4 separate regions of the Homo sapiens genome follow, and all the other regions are linked to region 1. Evidence: promoter capture Hi-C in human tissues and cell types (Jung and others, 2019). All regions are on one chromosome and are shown on one strand. The core of a region is centred on a gene start or on the middle of the fragment in contact, and the rest is flanking DNA. Distances in the headings are between cores, read along the strand shown.

What was found. The method cuts DNA at HindIII sites, captures the fragments that hold promoters and counts their contacts. A contact is called where the count stands out against the background at its distance.
Region 2: a fragment that was not itself captured here is called in contact with the fragment with the promoter of SPIDR in region 1 in 2 of the 25 tissues and cell types used here (heart right ventricle and spleen).
Region 3: a contact is called between a fragment that was not itself captured here and the fragment with the promoter of SPIDR in region 1, in 1 of the 25 tissues and cell types used here (dorsolateral prefrontal cortex).
Region 4: a contact is called between a fragment that was not itself captured here and the fragment with the promoter of SPIDR in region 1, in 1 of the 25 tissues and cell types used here (dorsolateral prefrontal cortex).

Annotation. Positions count from the first base shown.
Region 1 is chr8:47,259,188-47,263,229 of GRCh38, reverse strand. It overlaps SPIDR (scaffold protein involved in DNA repair), which reads right to left and starts at 2,292. Exons shown (of 20, transcript NM_001080394.4): 1 at 2,239-2,292. The coding sequence starts at 2,271. RefSeq lists a silencer at 2,029-2,578. The HindIII fragment of the contact is 26,545 bases long and covers 1-4,042 here.
Region 2 is chr8:47,753,020-47,756,990 of GRCh38, reverse strand. No RefSeq gene overlaps it. Among named protein-coding and RNA genes, the nearest start is that of CEBPD, 17 kb to the right of the region's middle. The HindIII fragment of the contact is 4,548 bases long and covers 1-3,966 here.
Region 3 is chr8:47,640,382-47,644,199 of GRCh38, reverse strand. The region is part of intron 10 of SPIDR (scaffold protein involved in DNA repair); the gene reads right to left. Among named protein-coding and RNA genes, the nearest start is that of CEBPD, 96 kb to the left of the region's middle. RefSeq lists an enhancer at 3,434-3,818. The HindIII fragment of the contact is 4,785 bases long and covers 1-3,818 here.
Region 4 is chr8:47,675,818-47,679,919 of GRCh38, reverse strand. The region is part of intron 11 of SPIDR (scaffold protein involved in DNA repair); the gene reads right to left. Among named protein-coding and RNA genes, the nearest start is that of CEBPD, 60 kb to the left of the region's middle. The HindIII fragment of the contact is 7,312 bases long and covers 1-4,102 here.

The DNA.
Region 1 (4,042 bases), core at 1,043-3,542:
CTGTGAATAACAGGCTGAGAGCCTGAACAAAAGCAAGGTCTGGGGCAGACTACCTGGATACAAATCCTAGCTTCTTCCCTTAACTGCTGTGTGACCTTAGGCAAATTACTTAGCCTCTCTGCTGAGCCTCAGTTTCCTCATCCATAAAATGAGACTAATGGTATCTACCTCACAGGACTGTTAAAATAATTAAATTAGTTAATACATATAAAGCACTAAACACAGGATAAGTTCTGCAGTAAATTATGATGTAGCCAATAAGAAGTAAAATGAGATTTAGATAGAGGACTAACAATATAATCAAAGTAGTGCCTAAGGGAAAGTCACCTCTGAAGATGGAATGGGAGCATGCTAGCCGGCACTACACATCAACACTCCAACCATTAAGTACTTTTGAGACTGACCGAGGGAGACAGAAACAAAAAATAAATTCCTGGGAAATACTGTGGAAGCCAGCCTCCAAGGTGGCCCCTGTGATCCCCACCTCCTGGGGACCCTCTATAGTCTCCTCATACATTGTACCGGGTTGGTCCATGTAATGAATAGACAGGAGATGGGATGTCACTTCTGAGTTTAGGCTATAAAAGACACGGGGACCGATATCTTGTTGCTCTCTCTCTTGCTCTTGGGAAAGCCAGGACCCTGTTGTGAGCTGCCCTATGCAGCTGTCAAGAAACAACCACGTGAGTGAGCTTGGAACTGGATTCTCCAGCTCCAACGACCCTTTATTTGACTGCAGCCTTGTGGGAGATCCTGAACTACAACCACTTAGTTGAGCCGTTCTCAGATTCCTGAGTCTCAGAAACTCTATGATATAATAAACATTTGTTATGAACTGCTTCAGTTTTCAGCAACGTATTACACAATAGACAACTGTACGACTACTAAAAAAAATTGAGTAAAAAAAAAGAGTCTTGAAAAATGACAAGATGAAGAGACCAGAAGTGAACGTCAATTCAAAAATACTAAGATTTCTAAGTCAAGAGAAACTGTTAGGGCCTGGAGGACTAAGGGTGAGATGATGATTATGTGATGCACTAAGTTTGAGCTCTAGGGAAAGATCTAATATAGATCTGAAAGTCATCTATATAGTTAACTTCAATGTATGACATTGTCCAAAGCAAATATGGAACATGTGAAAAAGCACAAGGTCAAAAATTAGAACATGGCACGAACACAGTAAAGAGAAGAAAATGAGCTGTTGCAAGACAGGAAAACAATCATGGATGTTCCAAAAGAAATAAAAGCAGGTGGTGAATGTGTCAAACGCTCCAATGATCAAGTAAACAACTTACACTGGATTTAGCAAATTTATATATTTCCTTGATTTTTTTCACACATTAATGCTTCAGAAATCAGACTGTATCTTATAATCAAGAGGTGCCTGAAATGAATTTCTTTATTCCCTAAAGCCAGTCACAAAACTGATAGTGTGGGCTGATAATCAATGGTATTTGAGAAGCGAGAAAGCATGGTAGTGGTAAAGAAGTTGAACCAGTATATGTGGTCTATTTTTTCCAGGAAGTTTTCAAGTAAAGGCAAGAGTCAAGAAAGGAGGTCCTGTGTTTGCTTTTTAAAAACCGTTTTACTATGAGACAAACGTATTTGAAAGCAAGGAAGTTAGAAGAAACTTTAAAACGATAAAGGACACATGCCATGACAAGCACAATTAGCAGAACAAAAAAGGATGCACTCGCGGATACAGGTGCAATCAAACACCATTCAAGCAACGATTCCTAGGCACCCGCTCCCGTTCTGGAACCCGAGGCAGCGCGGTGCCCACGGATTGGGCAGTCAGCCGCACAGTCCCCTCCGAGTGCGGCAGGAAGAGAGACAGAGTTGACAGTGGATTATCCGCGGAGACGGGTAAAACCACGCCAGGATTCCCTGCGGTTTGGTACATTACACCAGAATCAAAAAGAGACAAGAGTAAGGCCAAGTACCCCCGAGGCGGACATATGCTCCCGCCCGCTGCGTCCCTCGGCGGTCCCACCCCTCGCTTTCCGTACCGCCGCTGAGGGCCCGGCCCGCACGCCTGGACCGGAGCCGGACCTGGGGGCGGTACCCCACTGCGCGGGCTTGCTCCACGCGCGCAGACGGGACCCGCCACCACCTAGCCCTTCACCCCCAACGCCCACCCTCTCTCACCCCAGCACAACGGGGCCAGCCCCGCGCCGGCCCGCCGCTTCCCCGCAACGCGGGAAACGGCGCGGCGCCCACTCCCGCCCCAGAGCCTACCTTAGAGCCCCGAGCGCGGCTGCCGCGGGGCATCTCCGGGAGCGCCGCCTGAGCGCACCGCCTCCTCAGCGCGCCGCCGTCCCACCTCGGCGCGCCGCACCGCGCCCTGCCATTGGCGGGCGCTCGGGCGCAGGGCGGGGCTTCGGCGGGGGGCAGGGCTTCTCCGGCCCCGGCGCTCCAGGGCCTCCCGGATGGCCTAGTCGGGCCCGGAGCCCGGAAGGAGTGCCCCGCGGAGAGTCGAGCTTCCTTCCCCGGGGCTGGGGGTTCCGCGGAGCTCGCTCTGGGCTGTGGCGTTGCTCGCCCGCGAGCTCCTGGGGAGTTCGGGGGAGCTGCTGGGCTGGTGCCTGGAGCGGGGGCCGCCTCCAAGTATTGTCTTTCGAATTAAGTTACTGTCGTCTGTGTTGTCAGGCAACAACTGACCTTAAATAAAAATGAAAACCAGAAGTAGGCTACACATGCAATAGGCTACACATGCAATAATGGATACTTAAGGAATGGGAGTGGCTGCTGGTGACTGGAGCAGAGAGGGTGTGGTTTCCCCATGTTTCGGGGCCGGGGGGAAGGAGTAAAGTCTGTGTTCAGAGCCCAGACGCCATGTCGGTCATCACATCACCGGGAGAACTCGTGGAGCCTGAGGAAAGGCTACGGGGTGCCAGAGTCTGAAGGGGCGGAAGATTGCATTCCTATCACGTTCGCCGTGGCGCACAGGGGCTCCGCTGGGGCCGCCGCTCCCGCAGGAGAAGTGGGCCTGAGACGGTGCGGCGTCGACCATAGCCGGCCCAGCAGAAGCCGGGGAAGGCCACAAGTGTAACTGGGTCCGAGTACTGTGAAGAAGGCGCCTCCCATGGAGAAAGCTACCGGGTAGTTTAACAAGGTGGAAAAGCGTTGGCCTGGGGAGGAGGAAAGGATGCTCAGAAAGTTGCCTCAAAAGGACGCAGAAGTGGAGGTGAATCTTCTGTTTCAGAGGCATTTTTTTGTGCCTCTGTGAGAATGCATTGCTTCCTGGTTGATCCATCTTCAGGTTTTCTCTCCGTCCTAGTCCCTGTTCTGCCACCATTCTGTGTTTGAATCTGGTACCTAAAGCCGCAGATACTTGGTTCATAGTAGATGTCCACTCTGCAGTGGCTGAAAACACGGAAGAAAAACCATCTTTGCCTGGGAAGGACATTATTGCTAGTGCCATTACTGTCAACAGTTGGAACAAGATAAACGGCATGCCCAATCTAGTTGAGGATTTTGGACACCGGGCCTCCCACTGGGACTCCGCCGAGAAACCAGGTCTGCCATTGCCACCTCCGCCGGGCCTTGCTGTCTTAGCACAGTAAGTGCACCCGACCGCGCCCGGAGTCCCCCTTTCACTCCCACAACCAGGCCTGTGGTGAGGCTCCCGCTTGTCATCTCCACCAGGAGGTGCTGTCCTGCCGAAATGTTGGGGTTTTTCTCCAAACTTCCTCCTGTTCAGAATTCGCCATCTCAGTAGTGGCATGGACATCCACCTGGCCACAGCTCACGCAGAAACCTAGGAATTTTTGTGAACACGTTTGTGTGTCTTACTAATGTGTCCACTCTCCACTACCACTGTTTCCCAGGCCACTAGTATCTTTTGCCCAGACTGCTAGTAGCTCTTAACCCATGTCCCCTAATCCACTCTTGCCCCTCACACAGCACACACATACAATCCATTCTCAACACAGACACCACAGTGAGGTTTATGCTGTCTATACTGGCCTTCCCTTTCGGTGGTCAAACGTGCCTAGCTCCTGCAGCCTTGGGGTCTAATAAGCATTTGCTCTTCCTTTTGCCT
Region 2 (3,971 bases), core at 443-2,942, 490 kb before region 1:
GGAGAATTGCTGGAACCCGGGAGGCAGAGGCTGCAGTGAGCTGAGATCACACCACTGCACTCCAGCCTGGGCGACAGAGCAAGACTCCGTCTAAAAACAAACAAAAAAAAATCAATGAATCCAGGAGCTGGTTTTTTGAAAAGATTAACAAAGTAGATAGACCACTAGCCAATAAAAAATAATAAAGGGAATATCACCACTGACCTTCCAGAAATACAAACTACCATTAGGGAATACTATAAACACCTCTATGCAAATAAACTAGAAAATCTAGAAGAAATGGATAAATTCCTGGACACATACACCTTCCAAAGACTAAACCAGGAAGAAGTCGAATCCCTGAATAGACCAATAACAAGTTCTGAAATTGAGGCAGTAATTAATAGCCTACCAGCCAAAAAAAGTGCAGGACCAGATGGATTGACAGCTGAATTCTACCAGAGGTACAAAGAGAAGCTGGTACCATTCCTTCTGAAACTAATTCAAACAACAGAAAAAGAGAGACTCTTTCCTAACTCATTTTATGAGGCCAGCATCATCCTGATACCAAAACATGGCAGAGACACAACAAAAAAAGAAAATTTCAGGCCAATATCCCTGATGAACATCTATGTGAAAATCCTCAATAAAATACTGGCAAACCGAATCCGGCAGCACATCAAAAAGCTTATCCACCACGATCAAATCTGCTTCATCCCTGGGATGCAAGGCTATTTCAACATACACAAATTAATAAATGTAATCCATCACATAAACAGAACCAATGACACAAAAGCCACATGATTATCTAGATAGATGCAGAAAAGGCCTTTGATGTAATTCAACACCACTTCATGCTAAAAACTCTCACTAAACTAGGTATTGATGGAACGTATCTCAAAATAATAAGAACAATTTATGACAAACCCACAGCCAATATCATACTGAATGGGCAAAAGCTGGAAGCATTCTCATTGAAAACGGGCATAAGACAAGGATGCCTTCTCTCACCACTCCTATTGAACATAGTATTGGAAGTTCTGGCCAGGGCAATCAGGCAAGAGAAAGAAATAAAGGGTATTTAAATAGGAAGAGAGGAATTCAAATTGTCTCTGTTTCCAGATGACATAATTGTATATTTGTAAAATCCCATTGTCTCAGCGCAAAATCTCCTAAAGCTGATAATTTTGCAACTTCAGCAAAGTCTCAGGACACAAAATCAATATGCAAAAATCACAAGCATTCCTATACACCAACAATAAACAAACAGAGATCCAAATCATGAGTGAACTCCCATTCACAATTGCTACAAAGAGAATAAAATCCCTAGGAATACAACTTACAAGGGATGTGAAGGACCTCTTCAAGGAGAACTACAAACCACTGCTCAAGGAAATAAGACAGGACACAAATGGAAAAACATTCCATGTTCATGCATAGGAAGAATCAATATTGTGAAAATGGCCATACCGCCCAAAGTAATTAATAGATTCAGTGCCATCCCCATCAAGCTACCAGTCACTTTCTTCACAGAATTAAAAAATTAGTTTAAATTTCATATGGAACCAAAAAAGAGCCCACATAGCCAAGACAATCCTAAGCAAAAAGAAGAAAGCTGGAGGCATCATGCCACCTGACTTCAAACTATACTACAAGGCTATAGTAACCAAATCAGCATGGTGCTGGTACCAAAACAGATATATAGACAAATGGAATAGAACAGAGGCCATAGAAATAATGCCACACATCTACAACCATCTGATCTTTGACAAACCTGCCAGAAACAAGCAATGGGGAAATGATTCCCTATTTAATAAATGGTGTTAGGAAAACTGGCTAGCCATATGCAGAAAACTGAAACTGGACCCCTTCCTTACACCTTATACAAAAATTAACTCAAGATGGATTAAAGACTTAAACATAAGACCTAAAACCATAAAAATCCTAGGCTGGGCACAGTGGCTCATGCCTGTAATCCCAGCACTTTGGGAGCCCGAGGCAGGCTGATCACGAGATCAGGAGATTGAGACATCCTGGCTAACATAGTGAAACCCCATCTCTACTAAATATTCAAAAAAAATCCAGGCATGGTGGCACGGGCCTGTAGTCCCAACTACTCTGGAGGCTGAGGCAGGAGAATCACTTGAACCCGGGAGGCGGAGGTTGCAATGAGCCAAGATTGCGCCACTGCACTCCAGCCTGGGTGACAGGGTAAGACTCTGTCTCAAAAAAGCAAAACAAAACAAACAAACAAAAAACAAACCCTAGAAGAAAACCTAGGCAATACCATTCAGGACGTAGGCATGGGCAAATGACTTCATGACTAAAACACTAAAAGCAATGGGAAGAAAAGCCAAAATTAACAAATGGGATCTAATTAAACTAAAGAGCTTCTGCACAGCAAAAGAAACTATCATCAGAGTGAACAGGCAACCTACAGAATGGGAGAACATTTTTGCAATCTACTCATCTGACAAAGGGCTAATATCCAGAATCTACAAAGAACTTAAACAACTTTACAAGAAAAAAAAAACAACCCCATCAAAAAGTGGGTGAAGGATATGAACAGACACTTCTCAAAAGAAGACATTTATGTGGCCAACATACATATGAAAAAAAGCTCATCATCACCGGTCATAGGTGTATGTGTCCAGGAATTTATCCATTTCCTCTAGATTTTCTAGTTTATTTGTGTAGAGGTGTTTATAATATTCTCTGATGGTAATTTGTATTTCTGTGGGATTGGTGGTGATACCCCTTTTATCATTTTTGATTGCATCTGTTTGATTCTTCTCTCTTTTCTTCTTTATTAGACTTGCTAGTGGTCTATTTGTTAATCCAATTTGCCAGTCTGTGTCTTTTAATTGGGGCATTTAGCCAATTTACATTTAAGGTTAATGTTGTTATATGTGAATTTGATCTTGTCATTTTGATGTTCACTGGTTATTTTGCCCACTAATTGATGCAGTTTCTTCATAGCACTGATGGTCTTTACAATTTGGCATGTTTTTGGAGTGGCTATTACCAGTTGTTTATTTCCATGTTTACTGCTTCCTTCAGGAGCTCTTGTAGGGCAGGACTGGTGGTTACAAAATCTCTCAGCATTTGCTTGTCTGTAAAGGATTTTATTTCTCCTTCACTTATGAAGCTTAGTTTGGCTGGATGTGAAATTCTGGGTTGAAAATTCTTTTCTTGAAGAATGATGAAAATTTGCCTCAACTCTCTTCTGGGTTGTAGGGTTTCTGCAGAGAGATCCACTGTTAGTCTGATGGGATTCCCTTTATGGGTAACCTGACCTTTCTCTCTGGCTGCCCTTAACACTTTTTCCTTCATTTCAATCTTGGTGAATGTGACAATTATGTGTCTTGGGGTTGCTCTTCTTGAGGAGTATCTTTGCAGTCTTCTCTGTATTTCCTGAATTTGAATGTTGGCCTGTCCTGCTAGGTTGGGGAAGTTCTCCTGGATAATATCCTGAAGAGTGTTTTCCAACTTGGTTCCATTCTCCCCATCACTTTCAGGTACACCAATCAAACGTAGGTTTCACCTTTTCACATAGGCCCATATTTCTTGGAGACTTTGTTCATTTCTTTTTACTCTTCTTTCTCTAACCTTGTTTTCTAGCTTTATTTCATTACTTTGATCTTCAATCACTGATACCATTTCTTCCACTTCATTGAATCAGCTATTGAAGCTTGTATGTGCATCACATAGTTCTCATGCCATGGTTTTCAGCTCCATCAGGTCATTTGAGGTCTTCTCTACACTGTTTATTCTAGTTAGCCATTCATCTAATCTTTTTTCAAGGTTTTTAGTTTCCTTGCGATGGGTTCAAACATCCTCCTTTAGCTCAGAGAAGTTTGTTATTACGGACCTTCTGAAGCCTACTTCTGTCAACTCGTCAAAGTCATTCTCCATCCAGCTTTGTTCTGTTGCTGGTGAGCAGCCGTGATCCTTTGGAGGAGAAGGGGCATTCTGATTTTTAGAATTTTCAG
Region 3 (3,818 bases), core at 222-2,721, 380 kb before region 1:
CTTCTTCCTTGATAAACACCACAGGACTGGCTTGGCCATGTGGCTAAACTTGGGTGTGAGGTGGAGTGACTGCTAACGACCAGCCACCAGCACTCCATCTTCACAGCAGCCAGGATAGACTGAGGGTGGAATGCAGAGGTTCCAGGACAGACTGAGGGTACAGCCCGTAAGTTCCAGAAATGTAAACATCACACTCGAAGCCTCTGTTGATACTGTTTAAACAGTGTAGTTAAAAAGCATTTACATGTCACTAACTATATGAATGACCTCAAAAAGGTGTATCTACTTGAACAAAACATAACATAAAAAACCCAATCTCTAGTAATATTCTACAGTCATGATCAAATATAGCTGAATTTCTATTTCATGAGGGCAGGAATGAAAGTCTTTCCATTTTGAATAATACTGTTTATATTAAAGCTTTTGAATACACAGTTTAGGTTTTTCATGGCAAATGCTTTTTTGTGTATATAATATACATAGGAAATATTCCACTAATTATTGAGTTGCAGCTTTCTCTAAAATAGAAGTTGCGGTCAGGCACAATGGCTCACGCCTGTAATCCCAGAACTTTGGGAGGTCAAGGTGGGAGGATCACTTGAGCCTAGGAGTTTGAGAGCAGGCTGGGCAAGATGATGAAACCGTCTCTAGAAAACAACAACAACAACAACAACAACAACAACACTAGCCAGGTGTGGTGATATGTGCCTTAAGTCCCAGCTACTCTGGAGGCTGAGGTGGGAGGATTGTTTGAGCATGGGAGACTAAGGCTGCAGTGAGCTGTGACTGCACCACTGCACTCCAGCCTGGGTAAGAGAGGAAGACTGTCTCAAAACAAACAAATAAAAAATTAAAATAAATAAAATAGAAGTTGCAGTTATAGAAGTATGGCAAATACTACAGAATGCAGACTAGAAGGTAAAGAGTTATACCTATTAGTCATCTGAATATTAAAATTTTCAGACTTTAGATATGGACTGAATTTGACTTACAATACATTCAGTTAAAAAAAAAGCATCCCACAGTTGTGTAAGTATTATTCATGTTTTAAGGCCTTTATAAACCTCAACAGTTATCTAGGTATAAGATGTTAGCTGAGAAGACTAAATATACTAACAATGATTTTCAATGCAGTAGAACAAAGTAGAACCAACTAAAATAATCCAGATTCAATCAATAACAGTCCATATGCTAGAATCCATATGTATGATTAAGATCTTCATAATTTCCCAAATTTGCAAAAATTTGCAATATTTGTACATGTTCCTGCCTTCTATCAAATCCCATTGTTTTTCCATTTATTTATTTATTTAGAGACAGGGTCTCACTCTGCTGCCATCATGGCTCACTGCAGCCTTGAGCTCCTGGCCTCAAACGATCCTCTTGCCTCAGCCTCTCAAGTAGCTAAGACTACAGGCGTGCACCATCATGCCCAGCTAATTTTTAAATTTTTAGTAGAGACGGGGTCTCACTTTGTTGCCCAGGCTGGTCTCAGACTCCTGGCTTCAAGCAATCCTCCTGCCTCCCAAAGTGCCGGGATTAAAGGGATAAATCACCGTGGCCAGTCCACAGTTGCTTTTCAACCTTCCCTAAAGTTTCCTCTTTTATTGGTGAGCTTTCTTGCATACGAAAAACATTAACACTTTAGAAGAGTTTATGACAGGTCCCAAAGAAGTCAGCGGGCTGTCTTGACCTATAAATGCTGAGCCTCAGAGTGCGGGTTCACTCACTGGCCTCACATAGCAAGCACATGTCGAATTCTTTTTCTTTTTTTTTTTTTTTTTGAGACGGAGTCTCGCTCTGTCGCCCAGGCTGGAGTGCAGTGGCACGATCTTGGCTCACAGCAACCTCCACCTCCTGGGTTCACACCATTCACCTGCCTCAGCCTCCCGAGTAGCTGGGACTACAGGCGCCCACCACCACACCCGGCTAACTTTTGTATTTTTAGTTTAGTTTTACCGTGTTAGCCAGGATGGTCTTGATCTCCTTACTTCGTGATCCGCCTGCCTCGGCCTCCCAAAGTGCTGGGATTACAGGTGTCTGCCACTGTGCCCAGCCACATGTCGAATTCTTGACCCATAAAGTCACTGCTCCATACACACAGTGGCCACCTTCACAGCATCCTCAACCAAGGCCTTCAATGCAAATCCTTGAATGCCAGGGCTGCTCCCACACGTGCGCAGAGTCCACTCTGGCTGGAATACCATGCCAGGGCCCGAGGCTCTGCACAGCTCTGCTGCCACTGTGAGTCCCCATTAGGATGTAAGTAGGTGAAGCCTACCTTCCCAGAGTGCTGGCTTTCTTTCCTCTGCCCAGCTGCTGGCAGGTATTCCATCTCAGTTCACCACTGAGCACCCAGAAGTTTAGGGAATTCAATGTCGTCTCAACCAGTTCTTACACATGGTGGGCTGGGTAAGATGCAGCAGTCAGCTGGGCTTCTATGTCAGGCAGTAAGTGGCCAAGTTTCCCTGCTTCAGTTGGTCCATCCCTTGAGTGTTCATCCTCCTCCCTTGAGAGGCTGCAGGGGAGCCCAGCAGCACTCCAGCCACATGTGGCATTCCTTCATGCTTGTGTTAGTACCACTACCTTTTACTTAAATTTCAAGAACTGTTAAAGCTTAGCATTATTACTTTAAGCACTTACTACTCACTATCATTAAACATATATTTGTAATGGCCATACTGTTTTAAAACGTCTCATCTATAGTAGGCACTCTACTAAGTAAATGCATCGAATTGAATCTTGCTTGAGATATAAAGCAGGAATGAATCTATAACAAATCTTACATCACAGAAATAAAAAATATTCAAAAATAACACAAGTTCATGCTTGGATATAGCAAGTAGTACAGAGAAAAGTCAAAATTGATTAGTCTGGCTGGGCACAGTGGCTCACACCTGTATCACCAGTGCTTTGGGAGGCCAAGGCTGGAGTATGGCTTGAGGACAGGGGTTGGAGGGTGCCGTAAGCTATGATCATGTCACTGCACTCCAGTCTGCGTGACAGTGAGATCCTGTCTCTAAATAAAATTAAATTAAAAATTACCTAGTCTTATTTAATTTCTTAGTGTTTGCAATATCTATTTGCATTAACATTTGCTTATTTAAAAACATTTTAAAGTGTACCTCAAATATGCATACCCTTTTTCAGCATCTAATTAAAAATTTCCTTTTAAAAATCACAGCTCAGCCAGGCGCAGTGGCTCCCGCCTGTAATCCTAGCGCTTTGGGAGGCCGAGATGGGCAGATTGCCTCAGCTCAGGAGTTCGAGACCAGCCTGGGCAACACGGTGAAACCCCGTCTCTACCAAAATACAAAAAAAAAAAAAAAAAAAAAAAAAAAAAAAAAAAAAAAAAAAAGCTGGGTGTGGCAGTGTGTACCTGTAGTTCCAGCTACTTGGGAGGCTGAGGCAGGAGAACTGCTTGAACCCAGGAAGTGGAGGTTGCAGAGAGCTGAGATCGTGCCACTGCACTCCAGCCTGGGCGATAGAGCGAGGCTCCGTCTCAAAAACAACAACAACAAAAAACAAACAAAAAATCACAGTTCAATGGTTGTAGTCCATAGCATAAAATTTTATACTTTTCATACTTACTACCAAGTAATACATATAAAAATATTTGGACTTTGAATTCTTTTAGAAAGATAGAACATTAAGTTAAAGGACAAAACATTTTTTCCTCACGCCACCCTCTCTCTTTTTATATGCTACATTCTACAGCTAATGGCATTCTAAAATGAAATTTTAGGACTGTGGGACTTTGTTGTTATTGTCTGCTTTGATCATATGTTTTTACTTCTCTCTTCCTAAGAGTTCTTTCT
Region 4 (4,102 bases), core at 720-3,219, 420 kb before region 1:
TGTGCATCCCACAAATACAAATTATTTGCTTATCATGTGTCAGAAATTCTGCTATCTACAGAAAATATAACGGTAAATGAGAAACAGCACCTGCCCTGAGGGAGCCTACCAACCAGCAGGCAACTGTGAAATATGGCGGCTGGGCATGCAATTGACACACCTTCACTGACTGTCTATGTGCAGACACCCTACAAGGAACAGTTGTAATGATGATGAAGCCATCATAGGTCCATTAGACTTGGAGCCCAGTGGCGCAGCACATGGCACAGGCCAGCACTGGAGGGGATGGAGGCAGGCGGGCACATGGCACAGGCCAGCACTGGAGGGGATGGAGGCAGGCGGGCACATGGCACAGGCCAGCACTGGAGGGGATGGGGGAAGTGGGCACCTGGCACAGGCCAGCACTGGAAGGGGTGGGGGGAGGTAGGCACCTGACACAGGCCAGCACAGGAGCGGATGGGGGCAGGTGGGCACCTGGCACAGGCCAGCACTGGAGGGGGCGGGGGAAGGTGGGGACCTGGCACAGGCCAGCACTGGAGGGGATGGGGAAGGCAGGCACGTGCCATGGGCCAGCACTGGAGAGCAGCCCTTGTATGATGCATCTATGATGCACTGGAGGGCTCCTCATATGAATGGCATGATGTTCTCATATTATTCATCAAAAAAGGGGCACACTCAAACCTATACCAGTGACACTGCTCACTGACATTAAAACATGCGTCTGTGTTGGGCCACAGGCTAGCAGACATCCCACACAGCCCTAGGCACAGGCACCAGAGTGAGCTGCAAGGTTACCTCCATGGTGCCAGAGGGCACCCTGGTGGTGGTTGCAGCAGGAGGCAAGGGAGGCAGTGCTGGGCCCTTAATGAGGGTGCAGCATGAGACTGGCCTGTGAGGGAAAAGGGGGTTAAATAAAGCCTGGGAAACTAGTGCAGAGGCTAGCAGGGCAGTGGGCTGGGAATCCCACTGGGGGCTACAAAGGAACTTTCTATCCTGACTCAGATGGTTATTTTTCTGAGCATGTTGACTGAGCTTGGCTTCTGATATAAAGCTTATCACCACTTAATCTGCTGCCGTAAAAATCAAATTTGGTGTTTAGACAATAGCTTCTCAATTGGCTCATTCTCTGAAATGCACTTCCTCCCCTCACCTTTTCATGGAAACTGACCAGGGCAGTGGTCCTCGCCTTGCCTCACTCCCCAGGGGATGAAATGGCTGTGTGGGCCTGGGAGCTTGTTCTCCCTTCCATTTTAGCCCTTAGCCCATGCCTTTCCTGTTCTCTCCAGAGCTCCTACATCTTACCCCACCCTCTGCACCCCCTCCAAAGTGGGTGCTCTGAGCCTCCGCTCTCTGTGTGGGTGCTTGCTAGGTGGTGCTGCATCACCAGCTATCCTTCTGAGTCTCCCCTTGGCTTCCATGCTGCTCTGAGTGTGGAGGAAGTGAGCTGTTTTGTGCTCCTGGCATGTGCCACAGCTCCTGAGAGCTCCCTATGTACCACTTCTCTGTTCCCCTTCCTTCAGCTGTGGGAAAAGTTTCCAGCCTTGTGGCCCTATCCCAATCTCTCCCTCAATTTCCCATCTATTGCAGGTACAGGAGTAGACAGTCTTACTCCATTTTTGTGTTTATGACCTCTTCTCTTCTTCACTCAAAAACTCATATCGACCCTCATTTCTCTGGAACCAATGCAAAATCCCTAATAATAGGATTTAGGCTTTATCTAGCAGACTTTATACCTCAGTATATTCTGGTTTGTGATAAATCCCCCAAATCTGGCACACAGCTCAATGCCATGGCAACTAGCTGGGAGCATAGTACAAACAGGGACTAAATAATATTTACTGAATAAGTGAGAGAATTAACTTTTTCTTTTTTTTTTTTTTTGAGGTGGAGGTCTCACTATGTTGCCCTGGCTGGTCTCGAACTCCTGAGCTCAAGCGATCTGCCCGTCTTGGCATCCCAAAGTGCTAGGTTACAGGCAAGAGCCACTGCACCCAGTCATAATCTCTCTTGAATAAACCCTCTTACTTCCCCTTTTGCATCTCTCTCTCTAAATCCTACATTTGTCTCCACAGATAACATCTCACCAATTTAGAGACACTTTTCTTTCTGCTAGATCAAGATGTTTAAAGCATTTGTTCTCACTTCTTTCATGAAACCTTCTGAGATCAGTCAGCTAAGATCTAGTTAATTGAATCATCAACTACTCTAATACTTCTGCCTGTCCTGTTTTGGGTTGAAAGGGACACAATTCAAGGTCAAAGACCATGTCAGTTGCTTCCTTTGTCATTCTCAACACTCAGACAGCACCCTCTGTAGACACTGAGTATTGACAAAATGCTCTTCAGTAAGAGCTTCTCCAGTACACTACTGTAAAACGGCCCTTCAAGAGGCCTACAGAAAATAGTACCTATAAATTAATAATATATTTTGGACTCTGTGGTTGTTTTAACAAGTTGGGAAATAAATACCAGATTTTTGAACTGAAAGAGGTCTCCTTTCCCCACTCCCCACAAAATAATTTGTTAGCTATAGTTTCTATACCTATGATAGGTTAACATATTTCAGGGAATTTCTTTTCTTTTTCTCAGTATTGCCCTGGCAAATACAAATAAAAGCATATAATAAACAGCAACAAAAAATGAAGTTCACACACAGAATTATGACACCAAAGCCACGTGACTTCTCAGCTTGTTTGGCCTACTAAAGTGCCGCACAGGCCACTTGGGAGGACAGAGGTCGGTGGTCGGGGGCAGGTTGGGGGGTGGCCCTTAGTAGAGAGTCATTGAGGAATAGCAGGTGTGCCCCGGAGAGGAAGGAAGCACAGGCCATGCTGCATGTTCTGCGGTGAGCATACATCAGACTGGCACTGTTGTGAAAACTGTACAGTTTTTAAACCGAAGCTCAGGCTGTTTTTCTGACTCTTCTTCCTCTGACCAGTCGACATAGACACTCAAATCCAAAAAATTAGTCCGTCAGAGAAACAAAAGCTATGATGCTGTTTTTCTGCGAGCCTCTGGACCAAAGCAGGTGGCTGGAGCGGTGCTCCCTGCATAGGCATCTGGCAGCATGTGTGCCTGCCTGGTGGCTCTGTGATCACAAGTTCCCTGCAACACAGCCATTCAACAGCGGGTAGGGCTGAGTGATATTTCATCACCAGAACTGTGGATCAGATGAAATTTAGATCTGGTAGGCCAGATCTAAGAGGCTCTGTGACTTAGCCCAAACATACAACTATCTTCCAATTGGGAAAAGGTTATTTTCGGTATTAGATACTGAAATTATAAAATTAATCATTTTAGCTTGAATTTGGGGAAGTATATTTTGTTAAGGTTTATGAGAAGCATATTTTGTTAAAGTTTACGAGAATTGCTATGAAACACAATAATTTGGAAAAAAAAAAAGAGAGAGAATGTTGTGTTTACTGGGCCATGGATGGATGATGTCACTAATAAGCAATTATAACATCCCACATTCCAAAACTATTTAATAATTTGTTTTGAAGAAATATAGCTTCCAAAAGAACAAGAACACAATCTAAACATTTATTTGGATGTTTTGCATGGCAAAATATAATTAAATATATAAAATAATCTCAACCTAAAAAAGCATCAAATATTAGTCACCAACTTTAACAAGGAAGGAGGTTCAAAAGTTTATCAGTAAATGAATTTGTTGGAATACTCAATGCATTTCCCATGGCAAAAACATTTCCCATGTAAATGTTACAGACGGTTAGGCTTCTAGTGCCAACCACAAAAACTAGATTAAATGTTAGGTACATGTATGGCTATAAAGAAGAATGGTGAAAGAACAGGACCTTTAGAGAGACAAAGATTCCCAGGTCCTGTCTGGCTGTGTCCTTCCCCAGCAGTATTTCTGTAAGATGCTACGTCCTGCAGTCTCCAGCCAGAACAGCTGCCTCTGGCCTGGAGCACAGCTGGAACATCCTGTGGCGGGAGCCCCCTCGTGTCCTTGCCAGGCTCAGGTGGGTGGCAGCCGAGTGAAAGAGCCCTCCCCTCTAAACGACCCTGATGGTTACCATAACTACACTTAGTCTTCAGATGCTTGTGAGTCTGAAATGTTTACAATGAATATTCTTTTC